Regions from separate parts of the Homo sapiens genome. Here regions 2, 3, 4, 5, 6 and 7 are each linked to region 1. Evidence: promoter capture Hi-C in 16 types of primary human blood cells and fetal thymus (Javierre and others, 2016). All regions are on one chromosome and are shown on one strand. The core of a region is centred on a gene start or on the middle of the fragment in contact, and the rest is flanking DNA. Distances in the headings are between cores, read along the strand shown.

Region 1 (2,905 bases), core at 235-2,734:
GAGATCCACGATGGTGAAAAGTAGATCATCCAGAAAATCAGACTAAAGCAGAACACTGGCTGCACTGTATTAAATATGTAAGTTACCACAGGCATTACACTGAAGAGTAAAAACCTGCTTAAACATGGGCAAAATAAAGTTAAGACTGAACTTTCCAATGCAAAATTAAGTTTCTTTGTGCATCCTCAGGTGTTATGTGAAACTGGAGGAGTTCAACTTCAGTTACCAGTAAGAAGATACACAACTAAATCAAGACTGCTGCCACATTTGGCAACAACCTCCTCTCTTCTTGGCAGTAACTGTGAGGCCAAGAGTTGAGTTGGCCAGGGAAGAGTGATTTATCTTCCCACATTTAGAAGTGGTCCCTCTACAACAGGAATGCTGTACCGCTACTGGACTTTGAATTCTAACCTTGTCAAACCAGTACCTTCCCTAAGTATTCAAGTCACTTTTTAAAAAACAAGTTTAAATGGCATCGCAGTCCAATTCGACTTAGAGAAAACAAAGTTGCTCTTTCCAAAAAAAAAAAAAAGTCATTACTCTGGAAAATTAAAAGAAACTGACAGGGGGATGAATAAGGCGCTAAAGGCTGAGAGCTGTCGATGGAAGATGGAGGTCGCTCAGCATAGTATAATAACTACCACCGAGGCCTGGTGGGCAGCAGCTCCCAACCTAGAGCGGACGACCCCAGGTTGGCGTGAAGCAGGCAGGTTTGACAACACCAGACCCCTGCTGTCCGGTTCGTCGCGCTGACCCTGCCAACGCAACAAACGCCCAGACCTTCTCTGCACTATGGATGAGCAGTGTGGCCTGCTCTCGTTCTGCCCTTCCCTGGAAATGCGCGCAAGAAGGGAGGTGGCAAAAATCATGTCCACCGGGGGGGCTCAGGTAAGGGCTGGGGAGGTCTCGGGGTTAAACATTCGGCCCTTTGTTCACCAAGGCAGCAGAGCCCTTGGCGTCCGCAGCTCCTCCTCCCCGACTGCTCCCTGGCGCCAGCGTCTCCCGAGGACAGGCGGCAAGGGCTCGGACGCCCAGGCTTGGCTGCGGGTCGGGATCCCACGGCCTCGGCGGCGCGCGGCCCCTGCCTTTACCTTGTAGACGTCGCCGTAGGTGCCGCTGCCGATGCGCTGAATCAGCTCGAAGTCCTCCTGCGGGTTCCGGCGGGACAAATCGAAGCCGGGGTTCATGGCGGGCCCCAGGTGCCCCCCGCCTCCCTCCCGGGCAGGGGAGGGGGGCCGCTCAGGGGGCCACACGGAGAGAGGGCGCCGCGGCCGGCTCCCGGCTCCCCCGGCGGTCACAATCACCCGGCTCCACGCTGCGGCCGCCGCCGCCGCCGCCGCTCCCCTCACGCCGCTGCGGACGACGACAAGCGGCCAATCGTCCCCGCCCCCCGCGGCCCGCCGCCGCGCCGAACCTGGTCACACCCACAAGGAGAGGAGAACCCTCGCAGCCCCTCGCTCGGGGTGAAACTCCAACATGGCTTCCGCTTTCGCCGCTCCTCCCCCTCCCCTTACTCCGGCTCCTCCAACCTCCTCCCCTTTTCCCGACTCCCGCCCGACTGCGCAGCCGCGATCCCGGAGGGAGCGCGCCAGGCCTGGCGCGCACCCGACCCCTTGCGCGTTCCGGCTCCGCGCGCCTGCCAGGCCGGGGCCGGCGGCGGAACAGCTTGGGACCCGAAACGCCTCGGCTTTTCTGCGGACCCGCGCCCGGCCGCTGCCGCCGGACGCTTGAAAAGGTTTGCCTGGCCCAGGGACCGGGGTTAGGACTAGCAGAAAGTGGCTTCTTTTCGTTTCTGATTCCCCTAACGACAAAGTTGGACCTTGGTCTATCTGGTCCCAGTTCCAAGCAGGTAGCATAGTGGTAATATCCAAGACAGCCAATGTCCCAGCCTTTATTATTTTAGAAGCAGCTACATGTAGGATACCATGGAGTGCTGCAGCCTTTCTGGGATTGCGGGGAGGGGTCACTAAACACACCGTGAGGAAAACCCCCAGGAAAAGTGAGCTGTGCTTGCTTGCCCCTGTCACCGACACTCGGACCCTTGGAGTTGGCCTGCCAGGGTGCAAAGGAGGGCAGGCCAGGAGGGCCGCGAGGGAGGTGTGTGCAGTGGGCAGAGCGTGAAAGCTCCGGGAGGAAAACACGCGGAACAGCTGCCCACCATCCCGCGTGGGAGGCAGGCAGAGCGCAGAACTAAAGCAGTGATTGACCTCCCTCTTCGAAGAGGGTTGGATTATCAAAGACGGGCGGGGACTGCGCAGGCTGTCAAGCAACCCTGTAAAGAAGGGGTGGAGAGTGGACTAGATCTATTACCGCACCTGAAATATAAACACGTGACGATCCGGAAGCTCTTTAGCTGTGACCTTACCTACCCAAAAACCCCACCCTGCTTAAGACCCAGATTGCGCGTCTTACATCTGAGCTATGTGGACTCCAGCTCCGATTGTTAATACTTGCCCAAGAAAGCTTGAGGGTAATGGAAGGTTATTTTTCTGTTCTCATTGAACTTCCCAATAGACATTTGCAGGAGCTTTAATCAATTAGGTGATGGCCACTTTGGCAATACCACGTTGGAGTTTTGCTTCAGAAATGCTTTCCTAATCCCCTTAGGCACCACACCTTCTAACCACTAATATTCCCTAATACCTCGTGGCTCCTGAGAAACTAGGTCTCATCAAACCTGTTAAGGATAAGTATAATAAATTAATAGTAGAGCAAACTACTTAGAGTTAACTGCTTCATACTTTTTCAAAAAATCTTTTGAATCCTTTTGCTCATAGGAAAATTGCATATGTACTAAATTCTCAAATTGTTTACTTTGAGTATCTGTTGACTAAATTGATGTTTGAAAATGGTTATCTCTTCACCTATATAAGTAGCCTTTCAGTTGTGTAATTTTTAATTATTA
Region 2 (2,905 bases), core at 109-2,608, 240 kb after region 1:
TGGGCTTTAGCAGACCCAAGGTAGGCAGTTTTGTCTTGAGCCATGTCTCTACCTGGTCATGACAGTTCTGTGAGTTGCTAGTTGTGAATTCTGTGAGTGAGCTAGGAAACGGAAGAAGCCAGTCCCCATTTTCCGATGTCTTCTTTTACAATAAATGTAATTTCCCAGAAGGCGTCCTGCAGACTTCCCACCGGTCTCATTGGCTAGAATTATGTCACGTGACCATTCTTAAAGCAATCCCGGGCAAGTGGAATGGACCATGATTTTCTTAGACCAATCAAGCTTCAGCCCTGGGGCTGGAGAAAGGGCCCAGGCTCCCCAGGAAGCACTTGGCTGGCTGACACCTGAACAAAATCTGGCTTTGGTCAGCCACGGAAGAGGGGTTCCAGAGAGCCACACAAGATAGAGCCTGAAGCAGCAGGTGTGTTCAGGCGGCAGTCCCATCCTGCCTATGGTCATTCCATAGTAGGAGAAGACTGAGAAGAGAACTCAGATTTTCTTCCAGCTTTTCCAGATCTACCACTTTCTCCACATACTGCCCTAATAGACACATGGAAGTGCCCTGAAAGCCCTGTGCTTTTCTGTTTGAAGAGCTGTTTGAGTCTCTTTAATCTCTAGAGATTCAGAGATGGCATGGTTGGTTCTAAGGAGGCTTATTTATAATTGCACTTTTAAAATTGAAGGTAAATGTTCAAAATTGTGCATTCTAGGGAATATTAATGTACTTTAAGATCAGAAGGTGCAGTTGCTATGAATTTAATACACATTGGATTGGAGAGCTTGGTGCTTCAGTGCTTCCTATGTACAGCCTTTGTCCTCACTCTCGTCCCCATTCCCCCACCCCTGGATGTTCAGTGCCTCCCAAGAAGAGCTTCATGGAGAGCATTTTTCTGAATATCTCCCTTCACCCCCACTCCTCAAACCAGGTTCATTTATAGAATCTGTTCAAGCCAGGCTATGACTTTTTTTAACTTCTTGATTTCTTGGAGGAAAACAACAACAACATATTTCATTTCTATCCTTTGACTGGCAACTGAGTGACCATGATTACAACTTCCCAGTGCATCTATAAATATAATAACTTTGAACAAGAAAATTAGCAAATCACTCCTTGCTATTGCCAGTGTCCTGGTGTGTTGATAGTGGCGCGTGTTCAAAATTAGAAATTAAACAATTCTAATTTGAAGAAAAGCCACTTAACTCATGTCTGTATTGGGCTTTCATTATCTTTGAAATTTCTGTGAAGTATCATCTGCTTTTGAAATGACAAGCTGGAAGACCTGGGGAGGAAGCAGTTGTTCAGCAGTATATGTTTCTGTGTTTGGAGGAGTGGGATGGACCCTGGTCATCTCAGCAGGAATGTTCAAGTCAAAACCTTTCCAGCAAACCTCAGGTTTCCTGTGCTAGGCTCCTCTTGGACCTCTCGTTCGACACCGAGAGACCTATTTATTACAGCTTGATACTTCCTCAGAGCAGGAATTATGAAGCAAGAAAACAATCTGAACTGTTACAGATGGGCTGAGCTAGCAGGATTTTAGCACAGAAGCCTCAGAAGATGGTGTAAAGCCACAAGGTATGTGGGTGGGCATATATTTGGACCACCATATTGCATGCCAACTTGTAGGTTCGACAAGAAAAAAAAAAAGCAAGCAAGCAGGCAGGAGAGAAAGGAAAGGAGATAGGAAGCCCAAGAAGGAAGGCAGGAAGGAACAGATGAGCAACTATTTGGTGGATCTTCAGGGAACCATCTCCATAGATCTTGTTTCCTTAAATATCCATTAGGTACATTTAGCTTTCTAAAATACAATGTTATGTCTTTCCTTTAAGTAAAAATATCGGATAGATTCCTTAATAAGTTAAACATAGAAGAACCAAATATCCCAGCAATTCCACTAGTAGGTATATACCCCCAAAAGTTGAAAACAGATACTCAGACAAAAACACTGTACATAAATGTTCACAACAGCACTATTTGCAATAGCCAAAATATGGAAACAATCCAAATGTCCATCAACTGATGAATAGATAAGAAAATGTGGTATGTCCATACAATGGAACATTATTCAGCCATAAAAAGGAATGAAATACTGACACACGTTACAACATGGATGGACCTTAAAAACACTATGCTCGGTGAAAGAAGTCAGACACCAAAGGCCATAAGTTGTATGATTTTATTTATGAAATATACAGATTAGGCAAACCCACAGAGACAGAAAACAGGGAGGGGATAATAGGGAGTGACTGCTTAATGGGTAAGTGATTTTCTTTTAGGTTTGTGAAAATGTTCTGGAAATAGATATTGGGAGTGATTGCACAATGTACTAAATGTCACTAAATCGTACACTTTAGTTAAGATGTAAACAAAAAAACCCCAAATCTCTGATAATTTCCCACTGCCTACAGCTACAAGTCTGAATTTAGCAGGTCATAAAAAAGCTTTTACCTTGTGGCTCCAGCTGCCTTTCTGGTTATATACCCAGCTACTTCTGCATGAAATCTAGGATCAAGTCACATAAGACCATTTTCTAGTCCTTCAATACACATGCACTTTCGTATCTCTGTGTCATTGTGAATACTGCTTCCTCTGCCTGAATACCATCCTCTCTTGTCCATCTGGACAGCATCTACTTTTCCTTGAAAGCTTAGTGCTATTCTTATTTCCTCTCTAGCTTTCCTTGCCTCTGTCCTCAGCACCTCTCTCATTCCCTGCAGAATTAATTGCTGTATTAACTGGGATGCCATTGTACTTTATACATACCTTTATGATAGCACTTTCTACATTGTACTGTATGGTTTCCTTGTTAATTTTACATCCTATCTTAAGGCCAGGGATGGATACCATCCAGGTTAGTATTGGGCACATGGCGATCTGCCATAGAATGGTTGTTGAAATTTGCCTTAG
Region 3 (2,905 bases), core at 125-2,624, 220 kb after region 1:
AAAAATTCATTTTTATTTTTAACTTTTATTTTAGGTTTGGGGGTACATGTGCAGGTTTGTCATATAGGTAAACTCATTTCACGGGGTTTATTGTACGGATTATTTCATCACCCAGGTACTAAGCCTAATACCCAACAGTTACTTTTTCTGCTCCTCTCCCTCCTTCCATCCTCCCCACTCAAGTAAGCCCCAGTGTCTGTTGTTCCTTTCTTTGGGTCCACGAGTTCTCACCATTTGGCTCCCACTTATAAGTGAGAACATGCAGTATTTGGTTTTCTGTTACTGTGTTAGTTTGCTAAGGATAATGGCCTCCAGCGCCATCCATGTATTTCTATGATTTTGACCTTTACCCATTTCTCTCTGTTTCCACTGCTGCCTCCTTAGTCCAAGTTACTAATATTTCTTGTCTGCATGATTGCAATAGCTTCCTGACTGGCTTCCCTGCCTTCACACTTGCTACCCCCAGCTTCAATCCATTTTTCACACAGCTGTCTGAGTGACATTGCAAAACAATAATCAATGCCTCTCCCCTGCTTAAAACTCTTCAAAGTTTTTCTTTGGACTGAAGTCCAAACTCCATAGTTTGGCCTTCAAGGCCTGCATAATCTAGCATTGCATATATCTGCAATTTCATCTCATACTACCCCTTCCTCATTCACTACTCTCTAGGTCTCTTTGCAGTTCCTCAAAGCTCTTTCATGCCTCAGGACCCTTGCACTGGCTGTTTACTCTGCCTGGAATGCTCTTTCTCTGGCCCATGGGTGCTCAATAATGTTAATGGAATAAATGAGTATAGATTGTTTCTCTTATTTGAATACTATAAATAACTAATGAGAAAAATAATGTGTCATTAACGTTTTAGCCATTTGTATTTATAACATTTAAATTATATGGTCTTAATATGATAGACCTATGGAATTTCTGAAGCATGTTTATGTGTTTACATGGATGGAGTAGGGAGGATAAGAGAGTGGGAGGAATGTATTCAGCATGTGATAACCATGAATCATGCATCCTGTGAGATAGATGGTGATATCCCTATTTTTCAGAACTCAGGTGGTTTGGGAAATTAGGTCGCTGGCTAAGGGTGAATAGGTAGAAAGAAGTGGGTAGAATTTACACGTGGTTTGACCCCAGTACCCATGTGCATTCCCCAGATCCTGGTGCCTTTGAGCAGACACAGCAGAGAGAGAAGTTTGAAGGTAGAAAAGAGGAAAGACAGCTGGAAATACTGGTTTTTTTGTTCATCTGGGCAGTATCACAGGTGGCTGTGAATCAGAGACACCGGATATCTTAGTTATATCCAATTCTGCCTTATTTGTCAAACATGGCCCAAATGAACTGAATTAGACCCCAACTTCAAAACCCAGTATCCATACACAAAGAAAAGGTGGTGAGTACAGTTAGGTGTGGCAATTAATGAGCCACCATCTGCTGAAACATCACACTTTAAGTGGGACTTAACATGGTTATGGGTTTCTTTGAACTTTTTTTTTTTTTCCTTTCCCACCATATGTGCTTAAAGGCTCCAAAAAGGAAACAGCTTAATCCAGGAATGTGAAAAAGAATGGTGACATTCTGCGGTGTGTCAGTGAAATGAGAAACTTATCAGGCACTGTCTATTTTGGGGGTTTTGTGGTATTTTATGGTTCCAGGCTTCTAGTCAGTGACAAAATGGCACTGCCAAGATGACTTACCACATGCGTGGGGTATAGCAGAGCACTATGGTAGGTGCTGCTTCTAAAATTTACTTTTGGCTTTGCCCTGGACTGAGTTGACACACATACAGAAAATACTCCTTTTCCTCCAAGGCCTAACTGAGACAGCATCTTGGCTTACCCATATTCTTCCCAATGGAGAAAGGAATCTCTCTGTAGTAGGTTTTCCTGTTGCATTGTTTTGTACCTTGGTGACAGTACTAGTTTCAGGCAGTTCTTCTTTGTGGCTTCATGCATTTCTATCTTCCTTACCAACTACCTTAAAGCTCCCTCAGGGCACAGGCCGTGTTTTCTTCATCTTTACAAAATCCAGTGGGACTTTGCACAATAACTTACATTGAAGGTGCTCAATATATGCTGTTGAATTAAAATAAAATTGTTTTAGGAGAAAAAGTTAGAGTGATGACTTTAACATAAGATACTTCAAAAATGTGCAAAATGCACGTTTTGTATATATTGTATATATTTGTAGGTTAACAATATAATTGACTGTATGCTTATATTGAATGCTGAAAAAAATCTGATACTACCAAGAGGAAACTTTCACACTCTTTATGAAACCTAGTGTGTAGTTTTGGTTAAAATTCATAGTTTAAACTGCAGAATCTAAACGTTTGAAATGAGGAAAGATGTTGCTTTTAATCTTAGCACTGGTGCAACAGGGTGAAAATCTTTTAGAATATGCATGGTTAGGATGGTTAGCTTAGCACAGGTATGTCAACAAAGCATTACCATAGCTCTGTGTTTGAGATCTCTCTCTCTCTCACTCTGTGTGTGTGTGTGTGTGTCCATGGACCTTTTTTCTTAGGAAATATTTATTTAAAGAATTTCCTGACTATAGAGAGAAATATGATGAATGTCATAGATATTATGGTAAGTGCGTTTGGAGAAGGCAAAAGTATTTTGTTTTCTAAATATTTAAACATGACCTGCACATCAGTTGTGATGTGTAAATGCCATGGGAATACTGGGAGCAACAAAGAAGGGGTTTGGAATGCTAGAGTGGATAGTTCTCTCTAACCCAGAAAGGACAGTTGGAAGCCAAAAGATGAGATAAAGTAACACTTGAAGAATATGCATTTGGCAACAATATCCGGGATAACTGCAGGAAGGTTGATCCTGGAGTCATGGAGGCCAAGGAGGAAGCTGTAATATAATACAGATGTGACGGGTAGAGGCACAGTAAG
Region 4 (2,905 bases), core at 161-2,660, 220 kb before region 1:
TAAAGGCATCTCACAGGAAGTGTCATATTCAGTTCAGTTAGCTTCCAAGAAGGCAGATTCCGTCAGGGGCAAAACAACACCACTGATCGTGCAAAGAGAAGATAGCCATCAAAGAGAACCACAAACCAACACCACAGATCGTGCAAAGAGAAGATAACCATCAAAGAGAGTACACATCGACGCGGCGCCCAGTCCAGAAAGATAGAGCGCTGCAGCACCATTCAGCCACAGGCAGCATTTTTCAAAGCATCTTGGAGCAAAATGAACCTCTGGTGAAATCAAAAGATGCTCAGTGTTTAAATATTATATTTTGGGCCAGTGCAAAACCAAATATTCGGTTGGTACAAAAGTAACCGAGGTTCTTGCCACTGAAAGTAATACTAAAAGTCGTAATGAAGGCCTTAAAGCAAACATGAGACATCACAGTTCAAGTCTGAATGGGCTAACAAGATAGGGTAACATGATGGGGGAATTCAGACTGAACTGCTCAGAATATGCTCTTTGAACCACTCAGAGGAAGACCTGATGCTGAAATCAGAAGTCATTACCTGGAAGTTTGTTATAAAAACGTAATAGGGGAAGCTTGATTTCATTATTATTACCCAAGATGAATTCAGTCCTTCTCAGTAAATCTTTACTATCCTAGAATAAAATCCAGCCTTGTTACTATGGCCTACAAGGCTGTTAATAACATTTTACTTCCATTTCCCTTCCCAACTTTATCTCCTATCACATCCCTAAAGTCACTCCATCCCAGCCCATTATTTTCTGCTATTCTCTGAACATGCCAGGCTTATTTTATTATTTATTTATTTATTTATTTATTTATTTATTTATTTATTTATTTTTTGAGATAGAGTTTCGCTCTTGTTGCCCAGGCTGGAGTGCAATGGCATAATCTCCGCTCGCCGCAACCTCCGCCTCCTGGGTTCAAGCGATTCTCCTGCCTCAGCCTCCCAAGTAGCTGGGATTACAGGCATGTGCCATCACACTCAGCTAACTTTGTATTTTTAGTAAAGATGGGGTTTCTTCATGTTGGTCAGGCTGGTCTTGAACTCCTGACCTCAGGTGATCTGCCTGCCTCGGCCTCCCAAAGTGTTGGGATTACAGGCGTGAGCCACTGCGCCTGGCCCCCAAGGCTTATTTATACTTTCAATCAGGCTGTTAATAACATTTTACTTCTATTTCTATGTTTACTTCTATTTCTACTTCTATTAACAGTTTATTGTTCCTTCTACTTCCTTTTAGTTATGAGTAATTTTCTGTGTTAACTTGACTAGGTTAAGGGATGACCAGATAGCTGCTAAAACATTATTTCTGCCAGGTGCAGTGGCTCATGCCTGTAATCCCAGCACTTTGGGAGGCTGAGGCAGGAGGATTGCTTGAGCACAGGAGTTTGAGACCAGCCTGGGCCACATGGCAAGACCCTACCTCTACTCAAAGTTTAAAAATTAGCCAGACATAATGGTGAGTGTCTGTGGTCCCAGCTGCTCAGGAGACTGAGGCAGGATTTGCTTGAGTTTGGGAGTTTGAGGCTGCAGTGAGCCATGTTCAGGCCACTGCAGAGAGTGAGACAAGTGAATGAGACCTTCTCTCAAAAAACAAAAAAAACCCAAAACATCATTTGTGGGTGTGTCTGTGAGGGTGTTTCTGGAAGGGATTCACATTTGAATCAGTAGACCGCGTAAAGAAGACCCACCCACAAAGGTGAGGGCAGGCAGGCAGGCATCATCAAACCCGTTGAAGGCCTGGATACAACAAAACGGTAGGGGAAGGGCTGCTTCTCTCTCCTTGAGCTGGGACGTCCATCTTCTCCTGCCCTTGGATGTGGAAGCTCCTGGCTCTCAGGCCTTTGGACTTTGAAACTCTCTGTCCTCTGGGGCCTTAGGACTTGGCCTGAATTAGACCATCGGCTTTCCTGGTTCTCTAGCTTGCAGATGGCAGATTGTGGAACTTCTCTCCCTCCATAATCACATGAGTCAATACCAATAATAAATTTCCTGTTATCAGTACCTCTATGTATCCCACTGGTTTTGTTTCTCTGAAGAACCTTGACTAATACACCTCCTGGGCATTCTCTAACTCCACACTGTGCTTTATTTTTCTTCAAAGACTCATAACTCTTCTTTATTGTTGGACTACATCAGAATGTAAATTGCACAAGGGCAAGGACTTTCTCTTGTCCGTTATTATAGCCCCAGCACCTAGAACAGGACCTGGTACCTAATAGGAGCTCAATTAAGCTTGTTTCTCTGGCACTCCCAGAAATTTTATAAACTAAAACCCTGTGACAAATCTCTTTCTCTCTGAACTAGCTAGAGTGAATTCTGTTGTTGAATCCTGACCAATTCAGGACATGGTAAAAGAAGTGGATGTGGGAAACAATCCAAGGCTGTGAGAATCTAGGATTGGATATCTGATGTAATGAGGACGGAAGGGCAGCATCTAATTACCATTAATGGCTGGGATGCTGGCAGATGGCCACTCAGTAATGAAACAGGTACTTATTTATTTATTTATTTATTTATTTATTTTTTTGAGACAGAGTCTCGCTCTGTCACTCAGGCTGGAGTGCAATGGCATGATCTTGGCTCACTGCAACCTCTGCATTCTGGGTTCAAGCAATTCTCCTGCCTTAGCCTCCTGAGTAGGTGGGACTACAGGTGCCTGCCACCACACCTGGCTAATTTTTTGTATTTTAGTAGAAACGGGATTTCACCCTGTTGCCCAGAGTGGTCTTGAACTCCTGACCTCAAGCAATCTGCCTGCCTCGGCCTCCCAGAGTGCTGGGATTACAGGTAGGAGCCACTGTTCTTGGCCTGAAAAGGGAATTTAAATAATCACCTGAGGCCATCTGGAATAAAATGCCTATTCAAGGCAAGGCTTTGGTGAACTAAGTGTGATA
Region 5 (2,905 bases), core at 131-2,630, 200 kb after region 1:
GAGCTGTAATTGACAAGTCAGAATTGTACATATTCAAGATGTGCAACTTGATGTTTTGATATATGCATACGTTGTGAAACGATTACCACAATGAAACTGCTAGCATGTCTATCACCTCACATAGTTGCCATTCTCTTTTTCTTTTTATTTGTGGTAAGAACACTTAAGATCTACCATTTTAGCAAATTTAAAGTGTACACTACAGTATTAAACACAGACATCATGATGTACATTAGATCCCCAGGACCCATTCATCTTACCTAACTGAAACTTTATACCCTTTGACAAACATCTCCCTATTTCCTCCTCCTTCCCTCACCCTGTGCCCTTGGCAATCACCATTTTACTCTCTGGTTCTGTGAGTTTTATTTTAGATTCCACATGCAGGTGGGCGCTTGCAGTATTTGTCTTTCTGCATCTGGCTTATTTCACTTAGCATAATGTTTCCCAGGTCCATTCATGTTGTTGCAAATTTACTTCTTTTTATGGTTGAATAATATTCCTTTATGTATGTATACACACACAATGGAATATATATATATATACGCACACACACATATATATATTTATATCACATTTTAAAAGAATTCTAACTTTAAACTCTTTCTATGAATCCTTGAATTTACAACTAGTGATAAAATCTCACACACACACACACACACACACACACACAAACATACACATGTTCTACCTTGAATTACTACCAAGTCAAACAACCACAAAGCTGGCCAATGAATAGCTAATAACTGGTTGAATGATCAGCCCATATATTCTTTGGCAAATTGGATCAAACCACAGAAAAGTAGTCTCAGATAAAGTGAACAATATAACATAATTTACTTTCTCATAGAGAGAGGCTCTATTTAATTTTCACACCCCTGTGTCTGGTGTCCTTTCATGAAATACAGTAGTCTCCTTCTCAAAACTTCCCTGCTGGTGAAAGACATGCATTTTTTTAATGCACTCTTAATTTCTGGTATATAGGAATAAACTATGCCTCTGGGAAAGAAATGCATTGCATGGATACACTTTGTGAAGGTAAACACACAGAGGCATTCTGCTTTCTGTTAATTAATGACAGTGACGACAAGTTTTTATAGGAAACCAATTTTGCTTTTGAACACCAGGGAGATCTTTGAGCATAAGAAATATTTCAATTTAGGAAAATTATAGCACAGCCAAAAGCCCAAATGTAACAGGTGAATTATAGTTGGTCTAAAAAATTAGACACATTAGGAATTGGTCCATGAATGTTCAGTAAATACAACTAGATCCCTGAAAATATTTTCTCGAAGCTAAAGACAACTCTGAAAGTTGGGATTTGTTCCAGCATTTTCCCAGGAGGTGGAATTCAGATGCATGGGCTGGGACTGTGGGAGCTGAGAGATGCTAGAGTGGTGAGCAGCCCGCTGGGCAGAACCTTGCCTGGCTGGTGAGAGATTGATGTTCCCTGGTTCCAAATGGAGACTGAGTCTGACATATTTGCAGAGTGGAAGTTTGAGCTTCTCTTGTTTTTATTCATTACAAAGTCATTTATGAATGCACACTAACTGTGACATGACCTCGCTGGTATATTTAAAGCAACCCTAGGCTGGTGGGGTCAAAAGTTTCATTGTACACACAGATGCGGCTTGTCAGCAGGAATGCAGATTTTGGCAGGGTTAGAGGCAATGGATGTGAGGGCTGAGTCACCCTGCAGAGCATGCCAGATAACCCCTCCCCAACCCACACAATGGGTTCTATTCTAGTGCCATTCCTAACTGCACGATCTATACTGTATCTGTCTTGGATTTGTGTGCGATTGTCTGCATAGAGGCATAGTTGGTGACAAAAGAATGATGAAAATCAGAACAGTTACTTAAAGTGAAAACACCAAAGTCTGGGTTCTCTGAGCTCTCTCGCAGGTGTTTACTCTTTGACTTCTAAAATCAGTTCCACAGAAATACTCAAGTGTCCACAAATACACACATACAAAGAAGTTAATTACAGCATGGTATAGAAGAATGACAAATTGGCTGGGTGCGGTGGCTCACGTCTGTAATTCCAGCACTTTGGGAGGCTGAGGCAGGTGGGTCAGTTGAGCCCAGTTTTAGACCAGCCTGGGCAACATGGCAAAACCCCATCTCCACAAAAAATACAGAAATTAGCCAGACATGGTGGTGCACACCTGTGGTTCCAGCTACTGGGGAGGCTGAGGTGGGAGGATCACCTGAGCCCAGGTGGTTGAGGCTGCAGTGAGCCATGATCAAGCCACTGCACTCCAGCCTGGGTGACAAAGTGAGACCCTGCCTCAAATAAATAAATAAATAAATAAATAAAGACAAATTGGAAACAACATAAATCGGAGGGGGTCATAAATTATGACAGGGGTCCCCAACCCCCAGGCCATGGACCAGTACTGGTCCGTGGCCTGTTAGGAACTGTCCATAGAGTAGGAAGTGACCTGCGGCAGGCCAGCATTACCGCCTGAGCTCAGATCAGCGGCAGGCATTAGATTCTCATAGGAGCGTGAACCCTATTGTGAACTGCACACGCAAGGGATCTAGGTTGCACGCTCCTTATGAGAATCTAATAATGCCTAATGATCTGTCACTGTCTCCCATCACCTCCAGATGGTACCGTCTAGTTGCAGGAAAACAAGCTCAGGACTCCCACTGATTCTACGTTATGGTGAGTATGAAATAATGATAGAAATAAAGTGCACAATAAATGTAATGTGTTTGAATCATCCTGAACCCCCGCCCCCTGTCCTGTGTAAAAATTGTCTTCCACAAAACTGGTACCTAGTGTCAAAAAGATGGGGAAGTGATGAATTATGATACATTTTTGCAATGGAGTATTATGTAGCTGTGAAAAACAGCCAGGCAGCTTTATATGGATAAAAATGCCCATCACAGATTGCTAA
Region 6 (2,905 bases), core at 183-2,682, 180 kb after region 1:
TAGGAATACAGCATATCATATATATAACATACAGAATGTATGTTAATTGATTACTTTTGTTATTGTAGGCTATTGGTAGTTAAGTTTTAGGGGAGTCAAAAGTTATATGTGGATTTTCAACTGCACAGGAGTCAGTGTCTCTAACCCTTGTGTTGTTCAAGGGTCAATGTACTTTAAGTGGGAGAGAATGAGACAAATATAGAAAGAAAGGCAGAGACAGGATGAAGCAAGATTGGTGGGGAGGAAGAGAGAGCAGGAGAATGACATTATTTGAGCCCCTGGATCCAGCTGTACCTAAACTTACATTGGAAGATTTGTGAGCCAATATATTCATTTATTTCCCCTAATGCCAGTTTGAACTGATTTTCCTTGTATTTGCAACTAAAAGAATCATAAGAGCTAGGTGTGAAATCTTGAACGACAACGTTTGCCCTCAAAATTCTGTACATTTTGCTTAATTTCCTTCTGACATATAATAATAGAAAGGAAAATTCTGAGAGCAGCCTGACTTTCCCTTCTTTATATGCAATGTACTATTCCTGTCTGGATGCTTAAAGAGTTTTTTTATACTCATATTAAATCTCTTCCAAGAATGCACTTAGCTGCAGGTATTTTACACACATACACACACACACAAAATCTGAAATATTGTAAGCTCTTTGAATCTGCATACTTGAGACATTTTTCAATTCATGATTTTTAAAACATTATGTCTTTGATTACGGTTTCCATTCCATTTGCTTTGGTTTCTTTTACCTATAATTCATAAGTTGGATCTTCATCCATTGAAGAAGGTATGAAAAATAATATTCTGATAGCTTCCAAAAGCAGTAGCTAGCCAGTAAAGGTCAACTATCCCTCTTCTGGGTTGAAACAGATCTGGCATTCTTATTCCAGGGAGCCAGATTGTTTAGAGAAATGAATGGTCTTTGTACCTTTTTTCAGATGGGCTGTCTTTCTGTTCAGGCAGAATAACACAAGGGGTTACAAACTGCACTCCTAGCACAGTTCCATTAGTATGGTGGTTTGCGAAAATGTCTGAGCTTTCAGAATGGTATGTTTTTATTTTTTCCCCCTTCATATTCATAGATGTTTTAAGAGAAATTTTAGAGGGACTGTGAAATGCTATTTAAAGTTAGAAGTCTTCTGTTGACTTAAGAGCCAGCCAGCCAAAGTATCATGTAATTTGTGTTTTCAACATTCACTTAATTAATCAACTCACAATCCAGCATTATTGAGCACCTTTTATGTGCCAGACCCTATGCTTACTAGGCTATAAAGTTGAGTAAGATGCTATTCTAATTCTTAAGGATCTAGCAATCTAGAGGGTAGACAGACGTGTGAAACATTCAATAACTTGGTGAGCTTATGATACACATAGTTCTCTGAGAGCAATTTGGGGAAGGCTTCACAGAGGAGGTGACAGACATCTGTATCACACTTTGTAGAATCAGCAGTTTACCAAATAGATGAGGAAGTGGCATTGGTGTGTTATTCTATCATTGGTCTCTGTCCTTTCAATGGGAGTGTGATTGGGCTCAGTCTGCATACTGATGATTCTTTTCAAAATTTTACCCCACTGCTTTCAAATTTCAAAGTGTTTTCTTATGACTGACAGATCCGTGTGCCATGCACAATGTATGGGATTACATGGGCAGCTTTGTCTTTCTCTTTGTTAGTTTAACTTCTCTTTCTCTCCACTTACCGGCCATAGGGATGCTGTGTTCTTACACATATTTTTTTTTTTTTTTTTTTTTGAGACGGACTCTCGCTCTGTCACCCAGGCTAGAATGCAGTGGCGTGATCTTGGCTCACTGCAACCTCTGCTTCCTGGGTTTAAGCAATTCTCTTGCCTCAGCCTTCCCAGTAGCTGGGATTACAGGCATGCGCCACCAGGCCCAGCTAATTGTTTTTTGTATTTTTAGTAGAGACGGGGTTTCACCTGCTGGCCAGGCTGGTCTCAAACTCCTGACCTCATGATCCACCCGCCTTGGCCTCCCAAAGTGCTGGGATTACAGGCGTGAGCCACCGCACCCAGCTTCTTACACATTTTAATTGTTTATCTATTGCAACATATATTTATGTTAAGTTTGAAGAGAAATAATAACTTATATAAGCAGAGAATGTGAAAGTTTAAGGATAATCTAGTCTAATCTCTTAATCTCTACTACTATTTTATAGCTGGCAAAGTCACACTGCTGAGTAGGAACTAAGCAGGAATAATGGTAATGATGATGAAGATTGAATAGTACCAGCAATTTGTAAGACTTTTTCACAAACATCATGGCATTTAATGTTCCCCCAAATCCTCGGAGCTTAATATTATTATGATGCCCTCTTTACCAGTAAGGAAATTAAAGTTTAGCAATGTTAAAGTATTTGTTTGAAGATATTATCTTAAATCTCTGGACTTTCAGTCCAGCACTTTCTCTACTACTCAATTAAACTTCACTCTTTTTTGTTTGTGCAATTGAAATGTAGTTAAAAATACTTTCCAGACTAGGATTATCTTTTAAAAAAATTTATGAGAAAATACATACATGGTATTTAGCACCAATACTTGATTTCCTATATTCCTCATAGCCTGTATCAAAAGTATATCTTCCCATAATACACTGCTTTGTGTTATTGTCTAGTTTGTGTTTACATGGTTTGTCTTGTCTGAGCAAAAACTTTTTCCCTGCTCAAAATCTAGTAAATTTTCTCTCTCACCCCTTCTTTGCAACTTCCCTTAAGTTCACCGCCTGCCTATGGCAGACTGCCAGATTTCATTTGTCATGCCGGTGGCTGTGGTTATCAGACATTGCAGCAGGATTTTGGCAAAAATCTCATAAATAGTGTGCAGCAATGTCAGCGGTCTCTGCTGCTAATACCTTCCTTCTCTTCCTTTTAAAATCATGCTTCG
Region 7 (2,905 bases), core at 295-2,794, 160 kb after region 1:
CTGTTGGCAAGTACTTTGTGAGAGGCTGTGAGACTGATCACAGGGATAAAAAGTATTTATTTGGTACTTTCCCTAAATGAAATCTGGAGTGATAGCTCTTCTAACATTTTATTTCCTTCAATATACATTGGGCATAAATTCAGCTCTCAAAGTCTAAGGACCTTAAGGGGAAAACCACAAAGCTAGAAGCACTCTAGTGAAGGAGCACTGGGCTTGGAGTCAAGATTTTAGTCCCTATTTTGTTACTAACCAGCTATGTGATCCCGAGGAAGTCCCATAACCTCTGAGGGCCTCAGGTTTCCCCATCTTTATATCGAGTGTTGTACTATATGATCTCTGAAGGTGTTTCTCTGCTCCATCACTTTGATTCCACATGCTCGTCTGCAGAGACAGATTTACTGTGACTTTAATGAAGCTGAAGCTTCAGGGCTCTTTACTTGCTCAACTCCTTCCAAAAGCCCCGAGAGAGGCCCCATCAATGTCTTTTACATGGTCATATATTTTTGCAAAGTTTCAAAAGTAAGATATTTTTTACTGAAATTGGTTAAGACAGCTGTCTCTTTCCACTCCCTCCTCCTCATCACAAATCTTCAGGTGCAGGTAGGCCTGAAAGTGACAGCAGACATTTTTGGAATGAAGTTGGGGCTATGTCTATTTTGGAAGGCAAACTGAGTTGGGGATGTGTTGGTTTGGGGTTGGTGGGTATATATTTTGTAGTTTATAGCTACTCTGTATACAGTTACACTGTTGCTAGCCATCCTAGTATAGGTATGGCTTCCAGGAATATTTCTACTGCCCACTGTGCAGGCTTCCCCAGCACTGTGGCATGAAGGTGCAGGGTATTATGGGAGTAGGTACTTGTCCTACAATACCTGGCACTAGGAGCATGTGGGGAGTGGAAGAGAAACAAGATTTGAAATGGATAGAGCCAGAAGCAAATCTGTGGAAAATTCTTCCAATCATCAGACATTCAGTTCACAATGATGACTAAACAAAATGGAAATATTCTTCCGTAAGGAATATATGCAGTAATGCAACATACACAATTATAAACACACTCTTAATTGTTTATGGTAATTGCTCAGAATAGAATCCACCAGAATTCTTGTGTTTGTAAGGACAAAAATCTTTAATAATATGATGAACAGTCAGTCTGTGTGTGCTGTTTCAGGTTTTATGTATCTCAAAATGTCTTAGTATATTTGATGCATCTTCTCTTGACAAATTCTGGGAATTTTAGATGAAATGGCATGCAATTTTGACACAATGAAACAGAAAGTCCCGAAGAAACAAGGGTTCTAGCGACAGAACTCCTATGTTCATCAGTATGGCAGCAATAGATGTAGTATAAGGGTAATTTGATCCTACTATTATGTAGCTCAATATATTTGTATTATGTTATATTCAAATACAATATATTATATTTACAATTTTAAAATGTGTCTTTTTTCTTTTCTTTTCTTTTCTTTTTTTTTTCTTTGAGACATAGTCTCACTCTGTCACCCAGGCTGGAGTGCAGTGGTGCGATCTCGGCTTACTGTAATCTTTGCCGCCTGGGTTCAAGTGATTCTTCTGCCTCAGCCTCCTGTGTAGCTGGGATTACAGGTGCCTGCCACCATGCCTGGCTAATCTTTGTAGTTTTCACAGAGATGGGGTTTCACCATATTGGCCAGGCTGGTCTTGAACTCCTGACCTCATGATCCACCTGCCTCAGCCTCCCAAAGTGCTGGGATTATAGGCGAGAGCCACTGTGCCCGGCCTAAAATGTGTTTTACTTGTTCTTGTTTATGCCTTAATTTCAGATGAATTTTGTTTTTATTTTCAGAGTGGTTGATCATACTGTAAAACTCAAATGTGAAGGGAAGGCTGGAACCTACTGGAAACTGAAGATCTAACGAAAAGAAGGAACTTTTAGGAACTAGCAGAGACTTCAAAATGTTGAGAACTCTCTTTTTTCATAAGAGAAGATAAAAACTCTGATGGTCACACTCATAAAGACAAAAAACAAATAAAAAACAAACAAAAACTCAGAATCACAAGAGCAAAGAAAATGTAGGTAAAACAATAACAGAAGAGGTAAAGAAATTTATGTGAATTGGGACACTCTGGGGCACAGAACAGAAGAGGAGAAGAAACATGAAAGTAATGCTCTGCACAAGGATGTCTGACTGTCCTTGATTCCAAGGGCATTTAAAATTAGCCACTGGATGAGAACCATGAAATGCCATGACTCTTACAGCTCCCATGAAAGACATTGGATGGAACTTATCCTAACTGGACCAAATTCTAAAAAATTTTACATGATATTATAATGAGTTGAAAGTTGAAAAAAAAAAGCTCTTCTAGATTACCAAGAATAAAACACAAATTTCTAGCTGACTGAATTAATTCTCATCTCTCTATAGAAAGATCATAGAAATTTTTTTTATCATGCAAAGAAATAGCTAAAAATTTACAAAAATATAGACGTGCATTAGGCAGCTCATGAATAAATGCGTTTTTTCCTTTTTTCCTCCAGAATTTTGTGATGTTTATGGTACTTTTCGGCTTTTAAAATTTTGTATTTAATCAGGATTTATTACTTCATTGTAAGTAAATATTAAATTTGTACTCCATCTTTGTTTGTAATTTTGTATATTTTTCAGTAAAAAGGACTCCCCAGATTATGTAAGCTTTAGGCCCCACAAAATCTAGGCCTGTTGCTGTATCCTTTCTAGAGCAGTGTTTCTCAAACTTCAATGTGCATTTGAATCTCCTGGGGCTCCTGTTAAAATATAGCTTCTGAGATGATGCATTTCTAACAGACTCCCAGGGCTGACACTGCCCATCTGGGGACCACACTTTGAGAATCAAATATCTAGAACAATGGTTCTTACCTGGCTGTGCATTGGGATCATTTATAGTG

Evidence for each region. Contacts are between HindIII fragments. The CHiCAGO score rates a contact against its expected background, and 5 or more counts as called.
Region 2: a contact is called between a fragment that was not itself captured here and the fragment with the promoter of MAP4K3 in region 1, in 1 of 17 cell types (naive B cells). The highest score is 5.5, in naive B cells.
Region 3: a contact is called between a fragment that was not itself captured here and the fragment with the promoter of MAP4K3 in region 1, in 2 of 17 cell types (naive B cells and total B cells). The highest score is 10.5, in naive B cells.
Region 4: a contact is called between a fragment that was not itself captured here and the fragment with the promoter of MAP4K3 in region 1, in 1 of 17 cell types (naive CD4 T cells). The highest score is 5.3, in naive CD4 T cells.
Region 5: a contact is called between a fragment that was not itself captured here and the fragment with the promoter of MAP4K3 in region 1, in 1 of 17 cell types (naive B cells). The highest score is 5.0, in naive B cells.
Region 6: a fragment that was not itself captured here is called in contact with the fragment with the promoter of MAP4K3 in region 1 in 1 of 17 cell types (total B cells); the score reaches 5.0 in total B cells.
Region 7: a fragment that was not itself captured here is called in contact with the fragment with the promoter of MAP4K3 in region 1 in 2 of 17 cell types (naive B cells and total B cells); the score reaches 6.5 in naive B cells.

The regions. Positions count from the first base shown.
Region 1 is chr2:39,435,801-39,438,705 of GRCh38, forward strand. MAP4K3 (mitogen-activated protein kinase kinase kinase kinase 3) reads right to left here and starts at 1,485. Exons shown (of 34, transcript NM_003618.4): 1 at 1,092-1,485. The coding sequence starts at 1,187. It overlaps MAP4K3-DT (MAP4K3 divergent transcript), which reads left to right and starts at 1,616. Exons shown (of 6, transcript NR_037875.1): 1 at 1,616-1,735. RefSeq lists an enhancer at 679-758 and silencers at 1,089-1,448, 1,519-1,738. The HindIII fragment of the contact is 5,405 bases long and covers 1-2,461 here.
Region 2 is chr2:39,676,329-39,679,233 of GRCh38, forward strand. All of the region lies in intron 1 of TMEM178A (transmembrane protein 178A), which reads left to right. Among named protein-coding and RNA genes, the nearest start is that of TMEM178A, 12 kb to the left of the region's middle. The HindIII fragment of the contact is 2,157 bases long and covers 281-2,437 here.
Region 3 is chr2:39,659,430-39,662,334 of GRCh38, forward strand. No RefSeq gene overlaps it. Among named protein-coding and RNA genes, the nearest start is that of TMEM178A, 5.0 kb to the right of the region's middle. The HindIII fragment of the contact is 6,363 bases long and covers 1-2,905 here.
Region 4 is chr2:39,216,901-39,219,805 of GRCh38, forward strand. All of the region lies in intron 3 of CDKL4 (cyclin dependent kinase like 4), which reads right to left. Among named protein-coding and RNA genes, the nearest start is that of CDKL4, 26 kb to the right of the region's middle. RefSeq lists an enhancer at 2,854-2,905. The HindIII fragment of the contact is 1,661 bases long and covers 581-2,241 here.
Region 5 is chr2:39,640,860-39,643,764 of GRCh38, forward strand. No RefSeq gene overlaps it. Among named protein-coding and RNA genes, the nearest start is that of TMEM178A, 24 kb to the right of the region's middle. The HindIII fragment of the contact is 5,699 bases long and covers 1-2,905 here.
Region 6 is chr2:39,617,481-39,620,385 of GRCh38, forward strand. No RefSeq gene overlaps it. Among named protein-coding and RNA genes, the nearest start is that of TMEM178A, 47 kb to the right of the region's middle. The HindIII fragment of the contact is 6,580 bases long and covers 1-2,905 here.
Region 7 is chr2:39,597,541-39,600,445 of GRCh38, forward strand. MAP4K3-DT (MAP4K3 divergent transcript) reads left to right here. Exons shown (of 6, transcript NR_037875.1): 6 at 1,826-2,905. Among named protein-coding and RNA genes, the nearest start is that of TMEM178A, 67 kb to the right of the region's middle. The HindIII fragment of the contact is 2,251 bases long and covers 420-2,670 here.